Linked DNA regions of Homo sapiens: all the other regions are linked to region 1. The links are contacts of gene promoters, found by promoter capture Hi-C in blood cells and fetal thymus (Javierre and others, 2016). All regions are on one chromosome and are shown on one strand. Each heading gives the region's core, a stretch centred on a gene start or on the middle of the fragment in contact. The rest is flanking DNA. Distances are from core to core; before and after follow the strand shown.

The links. Contacts are between HindIII fragments. The CHiCAGO score rates a contact against its expected background, and 5 or more counts as called.
Region 2: a fragment that was not itself captured here is called in contact with the fragment with the promoter of ACADM in region 1 in 1 of 17 cell types (M2 macrophages); the score reaches 6.3 in M2 macrophages.
Region 3: a fragment that was not itself captured here is called in contact with the fragment with the promoter of ACADM in region 1 in 1 of 17 cell types (M0 macrophages); the score reaches 6.4 in M0 macrophages.

The regions. Positions count from the first base shown.
Region 1 is chr1:75,722,290-75,726,120 of GRCh38, reverse strand. ACADM (acyl-CoA dehydrogenase medium chain) reads right to left here and starts at 1,412. Exons shown (of 12, transcript NM_000016.6): 1 at 1,304-1,412. The coding sequence starts at 1,333. It also overlaps a transcript of SLC44A5 not described here. RefSeq lists enhancers at 1,197-1,286, 1,937-2,026 and silencers at 1,417-1,466, 1,517-1,566. The HindIII fragment of the contact is 3,396 bases long and covers 916-3,831 here.
Region 2 is chr1:74,763,213-74,767,240 of GRCh38, reverse strand. It overlaps TYW3 (tRNA-yW synthesizing protein 3 homolog), which reads right to left. Exons shown (of 6, transcript NM_138467.3): 6 at 564-3,347. The coding sequence ends at 3,128. Among named protein-coding and RNA genes, the nearest start is that of TYW3, 32 kb to the right of the region's middle. The HindIII fragment of the contact is 2,401 bases long and covers 728-3,128 here.
Region 3 is chr1:74,737,360-74,741,275 of GRCh38, reverse strand. TYW3 (tRNA-yW synthesizing protein 3 homolog) reads right to left here. Exons shown (of 6, transcript NM_138467.3): 3 at 2,488-2,586. Among named protein-coding and RNA genes, the nearest start is that of TYW3, 6.2 kb to the right of the region's middle. The HindIII fragment of the contact is 226 bases long and covers 2,204-2,429 here.

The sequences.
Region 1 (3,831 bases), core at 163-2,662:
AGGGAATTTAAATAGGGAAAAAGTCACTTCACATGTGACTGTTCAGGAAAATATGTTACATAGAACAAAGTGCAAAGGTTGCTATTACCAGAATACAATGCCCATCAACCTGTTAATTACATAACAAAGTTAGCCAGTTAATTAGAGAGGTGGTTTGCAAATAGAAAACAGAAACAGCACGGGATCTGGAGTTATAATTGCTGAATGTGAATCTAGGTTCCACAACCATATTTGTGGCCGTAGACAGGTTTACAAACTGCTTATAGCTTCCGTTCAAAACCAAAAAATGGGACTAATCTCACTGCGTATTTTCGGACGATTAAAGTACGATAATGTTTTGAAAGCCTAATGCTATATAACTATTGGTTTTATTACTTCGGGCTCTCTGTCTAGAACAATGAAATTCCAAATATCGAAACAGCACCACTAGAATTGAACACTTTTGTGCATTTCTTGGGAATATAAGAGTGTCAGTTTTATGGGTTAAAGAAGAGAAAAAGGGTGTAAGTTTTCTATATCAGGTTTTTTTTAGATCCTTCCTTGGAGGTTGAGAAATCTGCTTTTCTGGTGTAGGAGTTAAAAATAGCTGAAATCTCCCAATTTCTGCCTTCACTGCACATTAACTTGCATAACACCAGCAAAACATGGGCAGCAATTCTTTAGGATTATTCTAAAACCGCAGCTTTTTTGGTCCAAGACATAACTTTAACTTAATTTTAAGTGACATCTAAATGGCAGTGGTGTGAACATATCAAGAATATTTAAGATACCAAAATTCATCTAGTGACAAACTTATTTAGAATCTATTAAGATCCAATACTAGAATATACACACAAGTTCACATAAAATTCTGCAGGTTTTTTTTTTACTTTTTTTTTTCCCGTAAGCAACGTGGAAACGTTACAACGAAAAGCTTATTAAACATTAAGTATTTCAAGGAGTAGCTGCTCCATTTTTCTTTTTCCCGTGGTTCTGACACAGAGACGGGGTCACTTTGGAAAAAGGTGGGATTCCCGCGGTAAATATTTGGAGGGTTTACCAGAGAAAGAAAAACGATATTCTAAAGAGAGGATGCCGGCTATAACGGGGTCGCCTGACGGGAGGATACGGAAAATGAAACGCTAGGCTACGTTCCGTCCGGTGGTAGGAGGCGTGAAAGCAGGTTGGGGGCCCCTAGGCTGGCTCCTTCCTCAGCCCGACTTCCCACTCCTCCCGGCCGCACCTATTTTTGGCCCAGGGCCCCCTGCTCCGACACCACAATACCCATGTTCCAGCCCCACCGCACCGCTGGGCTCCCTCTCACCCTGCAGCATCGCCCGAACCCCGCTGCCATGTTGGCTCCCGTTCCGGCCACTCGGACAATAATACACGGGTCACGGCCTTGACATACTCCCCGAACGCGGGACTCCTCTGGTCCCGCCCACTGGAGCCCGTGGGCGGGATGGGGCGGGGCGGGAAGAGGCGGTTGGGCTGCGGAAGGACGGGGCGCTGCGCTAGGCGGGGTGGCAGCGGTCCCCGGCGCCGGGTAGCCAACGCATGCTCCGTGACCCTTGCGTGCGCCGTCGCTGCGACCTGGGGAGGGGTCGCATCCCCTCTCCGGGCAATCTCTGATAGTCCTGGTTTGGTTTTCTGCGTTTCCACCTCTGGCCCTCTCTGTGGGACGCCGAGGCTGACCGCAGCGCGGAAAGAGAGCCAGGGCGGGGGAGGGGGACGGCGGCGGGGCTGGGAGGGCCCGGTTGCGCTGAACGGTGGGGGGACTTGCGGCGCGGTGCAGGACGGGAACCTGGGTTAGAGGGCGTGGCTGGGGCCTGGAGGGAGAGCGGCCCCCGTGGTCAGCCTTCACCTTTACCCGGAGAGAACGGTCAAACCCAGATCGTGTCTGCTTGGCGGATTCAAAGTATTAGTACATTTTGCTCTCAAATGCCCTACCTAAAGCGAAAGCATACTTGTGTTTCCTTAAAATTTAAAAGAGAATTTAATTGTTTAGGTAAATTTGACCTTTCCGCGTATTCCCAAGGCTGTTTATGACTTGTCCGCTGATGTGGTGTCCTTGGATATGCGGGTGCAATCCGAGGCTGTCCAAAGCTCCTGGTTCAGCGAATGATGGAAGTGAATGTCTCCCTGAGGAATTCTACCTGGAGTCACTTTCTCTTCCAGTGAGACCCTGAGTTTTGAGATGGTAGCTTATACTAAATCTTATACTAACTTAACATTTTCTTTTGCCCAATAAAGGTCACCCATAAATTCATCTAATTTAGCTGTTAAAATTCTATATCCTGTTATTGTATTCCCCTACTTTGTCTTCTGGGAATTTATAGTGTGTTAGTCCTAGGTACAAGGCAGAATGTTAATTAAGCGCTATATTCAAAGTGAAAGTACCAGGAAAATTCGGAAAAGGGATAAAGAGCTGAGTTTGTCCTGGTATAGGCAAGAAAGCCTTCAAAGTGGTGGTGGTAAGTAAAACACAAAGCGGACTCTTAAAGATGATTAGGAATTGTCTATTCATGTCTCCTTTGTTCCAATTTCTTATTCTGAACATTTTAAACACAGAAAAGATGAACGAAAAGCACAAAATCACCCATATGCCTATTGTAACCCCTTCTTACTGTACACGTGGCTGGCAGAGAAGCGAAGATGGAGCCCTCATCTTAAACATGTCTAGTCGGTAGTTCCTGCCACCATTCACCCAAGCAAGCTACCCCCTTGTTTGTCTGTGCCTGCAGCTCGACTTCACAGGCTGCTCTTAGAAAAGGATTTGGGGCTGCTTTTCATTAAAAAGAAAAGCCTTACTGATGTTGGGAACGGGCGCTCAGTGTTGCAAAAATCAACACTGAGACAAAGGAGCTCTTAGCAAGGCTAGTTTACTTTCTGCAGAAAGGTTGCCGCTCGCTAGTAGTCTTGCCACGAGAGCACACACGCATAAAGGAGACAGGGTCATTTATAACCTGACACGTGCACCCTACTACCGTGTCCGGTTTCCATTGGCTGGAAGGGGACCTCTGTACTTGTCCTGATTGGCTAGCAACTTAGAACTTTCCAAAAGAGGCAAAGACAGAGGAGAACAAAGGAAGGAGGAAGCAACTTGTGGAATGCTGAGAAAGGTAAAAACACCTCCAGATAAGGAAGAAAACAGGCTATGGCCTAATGCTTCCTTGGACCAGTATAAGCATGCCAGGGCAAATATCTAGGCTAAAATGTGGCAGCTAAGAGCACAAAGTACATTGATTTCTTTATTACGGCCAACAGATATCAAAGAATGTTAGTGTGGCCAACTGCCACGGTTACTACTTGAGACCATCGTTACAGCAGTTACTACTGTTACTGCTTGAGACCATCATTGTGAGATCAAATGAAGGGACGAACGTAGAAATGATAACTTAAGACAAAAGGAACTGTTTTAAGGAAAGGGCCAGGGGAAGAAGAAGAGAGCTCCCTGCTTCTCGTGAGCAAAGGCAGCCACAGAGCTTCCACAGCCCTTCCTATTTTTTGGGTAACAGGAGCAGGGAGGAGGTGGTAACGATTGGTCAGCTGCTTAATTGATCACAGGTTCATATTGTTACTGACAGGCTTCAATTATGCCTAATCATAAGAAACATTTGTGCCTAGATCGTAACTACCCTCAGCAGTCCTCCTGGGTGGCATACGCAGTTTGTCAGTTCGCCAACGTTCTGCATTTATGAGAAACAGTTTGCTGCTTACTCATATAGCCTCCAGTGATATACTGAGTTGATCACGAACCTCATTGTTTCGGCCTCCAATATGTTAGCACAGTTCTTTGAATAAATTTTGCTTTTAAGAGAAGTTACTGTTTATTCCTAATTAGACGGAAAG
Region 2 (4,028 bases), core at 679-3,178, 960 kb after region 1:
AAAAATCATTTTATTTTGGATGGAGCCACTACAATGAAAACAAATATAATGCCATTCTCAATAGGCAGGTTATGGTGTGTATTAAATTATTACTAAACTGCTGTGTTTCAGTTATTGATATTGGTGATCAGGCATAAATAAAACACATAAATAAAATAGTTGTGTGTTGTTTAACAATAGAAACATGTTCTGAGAAATGGGTTGTAAGGTGATTTAGTCACGCAAACATCACTACTGGGCCTACATGGTGGAGCCTATTGCTTCTAGGGTACAAACCCGTACAGCATGTTAGTGTGCTGACTACTGTAGGCAATTGTAACACAATGATAAGTATTTATGTATTTAAACATATCTAAACATAGAAAAGGTACAATTAAGATATAGTATAACAGGTGAAAAATAGCACATCTGTGCAGGGCACATACCATGAATGGAGCTTGCAGTACTGGAAGTTGCTCTGGGTGAGTCACTGAGTGGTGAGTGAATGTGAAGGCCTAGGATGTTCTGTATAAACGTATTACTGTATAAACTTTATAAACACTGGACACTAAGACTACACAAAATTTCATTAAAAATGTTTTATTTCTTCAATAAATTAACCTTGGCTCACAATGAACATTTGGTTTATAAACTTTAATTTCTTAAAACTTTTTGACTCTTTGGTAATAATGCTTAGCTTATTGTACAGCTGTACAAAATATTTCTTTATATCCTTATTCTATAAGCTTTTTTATATATTTTTTTTAACATTGGAAAAACCTTTTTGTGAAAAACTAAGATATAAACACACACATTAGCCTAAGCCTACACAGGGTCAGAATCCTCAGTATCACTGTCTTCCTCCTCCACATCTTGTACCACTGGAAGGTCTTCAGGGGCAATAACACACATGAAGCTGTCACCTTCTATGATAACAATGCCTTCTTCTGGAGTACTTCCTGAAGGACCTGTCAGAAGCTGTTTTACAGTTAACATTTTAAGTAGTATACCCTAAAATAATGATAAAAAGCATAGCAAAGACACAAACCAGTAACATATTATCAAGTATTATGTATGCACTGTACATAATTATATGTACCATACTTTTATATGACTGTCACCACAAACGTGGGTAATGTGTTGTGCTACAGCTTTACAATGACCACATCACTAGCAATAGGAATTTTTCAGGTCCATTATAATCTTATGGGGCCACCATATCGTATATGGTATATGGTCCATCATTGATGATTAAAATGTTATGTAGCTCATGAATGTATATTAAGGAATGTTAAGGAGTGAATGGGATTCAATGTCTTCTTAGGTTTATGGCCAGCACCTGGTGTCTCCTCTCTACTAACCTTATATAAACAGATTATACTATACTATACCTTATATAAACAGATTAGGAAGCAGCCCCTCTCTTCTTAATTCTCATTCATATATTCAGTTTATGGAATCTTTAAAATACATAGTTTTCTTGGAGATCAATTTAAATGAATGAAGAAAAGTCAATGAGCCTCTTAGATTTTAAAACTGCAGAATGTGTTGTCATTTCACCACAGGATAGGCTCGTTCCACCTGCACTCTCTCTTTCCTACTGTTATTTATAACTTTTTTTTTTATTCATTTATCTTCTCTTTTCATTTACTGCACTGCCAGGCAGATACTTTCATATTCTGTCCACCAGACTAGAAGAAATGCTCCAGGCATTCCGACACTGTGAGTTCCCTTTCCTGCCCAAATTTCCTTCCCAGAAGGACTGCTGTATATGTTGGTAGATAAGAATGTGCACTGCACAACTTCGAGTGCCACTGACATTGTCATCTAGGGGAATGTTCCCTCCCAAGTGGTACAGAGTTCAACTTACATAGCTGAACGAGTTGCCATGCTTTCCTGGAAACTGCCTTAGACCCAATGGTAAGGACTATAACTTACCTAAGCTCTTGCTTATTCTCCTATAAAGTGTACACATGAAATCCCTGGCACAGGTACACTGCAACATCTGTTCATGTGACCCTTTTTCTTTTCATTAGAAAAATCTTCAATTCCTCCTCAAATGCTGTCTCCAGGAATAAGTCTGTTATCAGTGGGTTCTAAAAGTGCTGGACTGATTTTATCAGAACCACTTGGATGAGTTGTGTGAAAAATAAAGATTCCTAGACTCCAGGATTAAGATTCTGGTTTGGAAGATCTGCGGCAGGGCCTATTAAAGTAGCATCTCCATGCCTCGTCCTGACCTAGGTAATTCTGATATGCAGCCATATTAAGGAAACACTGTCTACCTCCATGCTAGATTAGAACGGCCCTTCACAGTTGGGCATCAACTACCTTGACTCGCATCACATGCTGTGTTTCAGCCTTTCTGGACTATTCCCCATCACTGACTATACCATGCTTTTTGATGCCTCATATCCATTATATACCCTTTGTCTGCGAGAGGTTTTCTGATTTTTCCCATCATGTGAACTTGTATCTTGTCCTTTTAGTCCTAAATGAAATGGTATCTCCTTGAACTGGAATTCCAGTACTTCCTCACCTGTAATCAATTATTCCCAAATCTTTGTTCCTATAATAATACGTATTATTGAAGTGATACTTAAAAGTTACATGTCCCTAAAAGAATGTTTAAAACTATGTATTTACATCATTAATTTAGTTTATAGCATAAGTTTAAATCACAACCAAAGATATAATTTCTGGCATATCAACTATAATGCTAATTTCCAGCATTAAAATATCCACTATTATTTAAAATAAAGGTCTTTTTACTTAAAATATTTATGCTATCCCTTTTCAAAATGTATCCAAAATAATCTAAATACCTGTCTTAGGTCAGGTTATTTCAGAATAAGACACCATTCAAACATCTTTGATTTATTAAGCAGGTGCTTCTGGGAGAAACTGGTAAAAAAGTAGGGATAACTATAGCATTTCAGGTGAAGTCGTAGGATAAGCCGGGTACTGCTGAGAGCTTAGATGACAACTGCACATCCTCTGGGCAACAAAGTTATAGTTTGAAGCTCTGCACTTGTCATTACTGGCTTATGAATGGCTGATACACTCAACAAACTAAAATACTCTTATGAAGAGCAGCTTTATAAAACCTACTAGAAACATTACGGCCAAGACACATCAGAACCAAAGCTTAGTAATCTTCAGGGAAGATGGTAACATTGATTCCTAGATCATCATCATCATCATTTTCAAGTTCTTCATCACTTTCTTTAGTAATACACTGGGCACGTGTTTTTTCTGGGTTTCTTTTTTTCTTATGAATATATGATGAGTTATTTTTCTCTTTGATCTTGGGATGTAAGTTAGTCATCGTTTCCCTTTCCAAAGCATGCTGTAGGCAGTTGTAAAACCTGTGAAGAAATAAGTACTACTATTATATCTGTGTGTACTGAAACGAAATGACTGAAATACACCAAGAGCTTATAAGTTATGTAAATTTGACTATGTCCCATATTAGCTTTATAAATATAAATCAAATAAATAATATGTTTTATTAGGGAAATAAATGCATTTCAGTTCTTTAAGAACAGCCCTGAAAACTGGATTGGAATCACCTCTTGACAACCTCTGTCCTACCTCACTTTCCAACCCAAATGTAGGGGTCAAAGAAGAGGGTAAAAAAGAATGCAATTATTATTACATAAATGTAATGGCTCATTTTAGGTAATTTGTATAATGTGTGAGGTTACAAATACAGATCACCTCTACATAACTAGAAATAACTCCTCTCAATATTTTTCTTTTCAGTTTATTAATGTAGTCTGAATTAATGTATTTATTAATTAATCCATATACCTATTTGTCACAATTAGAATATTACATATAAAGTTTTACATTGTTTTTTCAAAGTTATTATTTATTGAGAGTGGCAGTACAACATTATGTCATCTAGATTGGCCTTTATTTACATTCAAATTTTCCCTGATACAAACAAAAATGTGGTAAGCATTTTTGAAAATGATGTGATGTGAGTTTTTAGCCATTTCTTTATATAGACACCTAGAAATATCATTACATCGTTAAAAGGCATA
Region 3 (3,916 bases), core at 1,067-3,566, 990 kb after region 1:
ATCCTGAGGAAAAACCCATTCCTCCTTAAAAAATATAAGTGAAAACCTACATAATCTTTAACACCTCTCTTTACCCCTTTAATGGAATCCTTTTACTATTTCATCATATTTTCTAGCAGCATACTAACCATACTCTTTGTGATAGGACTATATACTGTAGCCAAACGAGCTCAACTAACAACTTCTACCGAGGACCCCTGGACGGACCCACTGGCCCTTTCACTGGTCTAAAGAGTTCCCCTCTGGAGGACACTACAACTGCAGGGCCCCTTCTTCACCCCTATCCAGCAGGAAGTAGCTAGAGCCGTCATCGCCAAATTCCCAGCAGCAGTTGAGGTGTCCTGTTTAGAGGGTGGATTGAGAGATGAAGCCAGCTGGACTTTCTGGGTCAAGTGGGGACTTGGAGAACTTTTCTGTCTAGCTAGAGGACTGCAAATGCACCAATCAGCACTCTGTAAAAACGCACCAATTAGCGCTCTGTGTGTAGCTAAAGGACTGTAAATGCACCAATCAGCACTCTGTAAAAATGCACCAATCAGCGCTCTGTGTCTAGCTAAAGGATTGTAAACGCACCAATCAGCACTCTGTAAAAATGCACCAATCAGCGCTCTGTGTCTAGCTAAAGGATTGTAAACGCACCAATCAGCACTCTGTAAAAACGCACCAATCAGCGCTCTATGTCTAGCTAAAGGATTGTAAATGCACCAATCTGCACTCTGTAAAATGGACCAATCAGCTGTCTGTAAAAGCGACCAATCAGCAGGATGTGGGTGGGGCCAAATAAGGGAATAAAAACTGTCCACCCGAGCCAGCAGCAGCAACCCACTTGAGTCCCCTTCCAAGCTGCAGAAGCTTTATTCTTTCACTCTTAATAAATCTTGCTGCTGCTCAGTCTTTGGGTCTGCATTACCATTATGAGCTGTTAACACTCACTGTGGAAGTCTGCGGCTTCATTTCTGAAATCAGCAAGACCACGAACCCACTGGGAGGAACAAACAACTCTGGACATGCCACCTTTAAGAGCTGTAACACTCACTGCGAAGGTCTGCAGCTTCACTCCTGAAGTCAGCAAGACCACGAACCCACTGGAAGGAAGAAACTCCGGACACATCTGAACATCTGAAGGAACAAACTCCGGACATACCATCTTTAAGAACTGTCACACTCACTGCGAGGGTCCACGGCTTCATTCTTGAAGTCAGCGAGACCAATAACCCACTGGAAGGAACCAATTCTGGACACACTTCAACTTCAGCACACCCCATCTGGATAAAGGCGACTACCATACAGCTAGGGGCTCCAGCCAGACCTAAGTAGTTATCCTTGATTCCTCTTTCTCCTCCTCCCTCTGGCTGTCCTTCCCCAGACAACCTTACAATTCTGTTGATTCAAATGCTGAAATACATATTGAATCTATTCCTTTCTCACCTGCTTTGGTGCTATCACCTTACACCAACCTATCACCACAAACTACTCCTAACTCGTATCTTTTCACTTACTGCACTCCTTTCTCTATGCTGAAGCAGAACTGAGTTTTTCAGAACAAAAACCTAGAAAGCCACTCTTTGCTTAAAACTGTCCCTTCAATAACTTTTCCCTGAACTCAGAAAGAAATTCAAACTCTTTAATCTGGTCTACAAAGCCTTAAATGACCTGGCCCCAGCCTCCTTCTGGCACCTTCTTTCCACTCTCTAGACCCACTGAAACTTTGTATATACTTTTCCATCTTCATGGAATGTTCATTTCCCAGCTACATGCCTAGCTCTTTCTGTTCCTTTAAGTCTTAGCTTAAAGAAAGCTTTTCAGAGAAGCCTATCTTCAAGTGAGCTGCTTTTTGCACTGTTCTCTATTACCAGGTTGTTTTTTCCTTCGGTAGAACATTTTGCAACTTGCAGTTTGTTTTTTGTTTTTTTGCCAGTTCACTTGTTTGTTTTTGCTGTCTCCTAACTTTGGAAGAGGAACCAAGACAGTCTTTAATCTTGTTCATCACTGTGCCCCTAGTACTTGACACACTGAGACTCAATACATTATTGTTGCTTAAAATGCAATTCAGTTTTATATATAAATATATAAAAGGTATAAAAAGGAGAATCAAGACTAAACAGATGTTTACCTCATGCATGCTCATTTAAATGGGAAAAATGAAATATTCTTTAAAACTCTTAATTTTACATGTAGTTCCACAGTATTTTTTCTTAAAGCTTGGCAAACAAAAACAAACTATAGAATGCTGAAGTAAAATTTATAAATAAAAACGTTAAGAAAGAAAACAGGAAGCATAACCTGGGACTTATATTTTCCTAGCAATGATTAGCTACTCTTTTTTTCTAATATTAAAAATTAATAGATTGAGCAGACCAATAAATAATATATACATAACTAGTTGAATAAGGTAATATCTCATTGATATTTATAGCAGGTTAAAAGCTTAAAATTACATCTACCCACATATCTATAAATTCAAGTACAATTACAACAAAATTTTACCAGAATCTGTGCATCCTGCAATTGTCGACACTGCACATGAAGAACAAATGGTTCAAATTTCAAAGTGGCATCACCATTTGCTTTCTTCAGAGCTACAATCTAAATAAATGAACAGTGGTATCAGATGCAAGTATATGGCCTGTCCTTTGGCGACCCTTTACCCCATACATAACTTCAATTTCTCTTAGAAATTTTCAGAATCACTCAGCATATTTTTTCTGCAGTAACTTTTCCCTCTGCTTTCTTGGTCCTTTTTCACCAAAAATTTATTTGCTTATTTTCTTAAAATTTCTAGTTCTCCCGTAAATCTTCTATACCATTCTTTCCACCTATTAGTGTGCTTTGAAGAAGTAAACTACTACTTTATTTAATTCCATAACGGATTTTTCATTAGGAAATGTAGTATACAAAAACTGTATTAGGATTGTTTAAATTTTTTGTTAGATTGAGATAGAGACAAATGTAATGTGAGAGAAGGGTCCAAACAAAGCCTAACTGCCACCCATGTTCCCAAGAAGCATCCTGTACCAAGCACCAGTGCTTACCAGCAGCACTAGTAAGCTCACAAATAGCAGTGCATGCAAAGAGCTCAGAGCACAGCCAGTGAGTTCCTGTTCCCTCTGTAACAGGCACAGTTGTTGTAACAATTGCAACTTGCAGTTTTTTTGTTTGTTTTTTTTTCCCTGTTCACTTGTTTGTTTTTGCTATCTCCTAACTTTGGGAGAGGAACCTTGGAACTGCTCAGCTACATGAGAACCAATGGCCCCTGAGCACGTTCCTAGCTTTCTGTATTTCAGACCCTATGGGGCAGTGTTCAGGGTCTGGGAGCTACTGCAGCACAAAGTGGGGTACATGCCATCACTCTGCCCTGATCAGCTGTGGAACCAATCTGCTAGCCATGGGGACTGACACATTGCAAAGGGCTAGATCTTGTGTAGTCTCTTCCCTCCTGCTATAAGCAAATGTTACAACACTTGAGCCTAGTATGCGTGTTTTTTGTTAGTGACCTTGAGTCAGGTACTAGTCTCTTCCCTAGGTAGCACTTGCCTGCCTTTTAACCTTGGCTGCACCCATGTTACAGTGTATCCTGCGGCGTAGTCTGACCACCTAGTGAAACATGTAATATTGTGTCTGAGCTAGAATTTATACAAGACAGTTATTATTTCTGTCTGCCCAGCATCCCCGGGCAACATCGTCCTGCCTTCACACCATTTGATTTCTGGTGGGGCTGTCAATCATTACCCTGTCACACATCACTCTCCCTATCACAATATCAGAGGTGCCAAGTGCTTGCTTATGTCTGATCAAGGATATCATCACATTCCACTAGCAAAAATAATTAACCTAAGAGGGAGAGCACCTAATCTAAGCAGGACAATTCCAAGTCCTTCTCTAAGATGGACACATGAATTGCAGGAAAAGGAGTTCT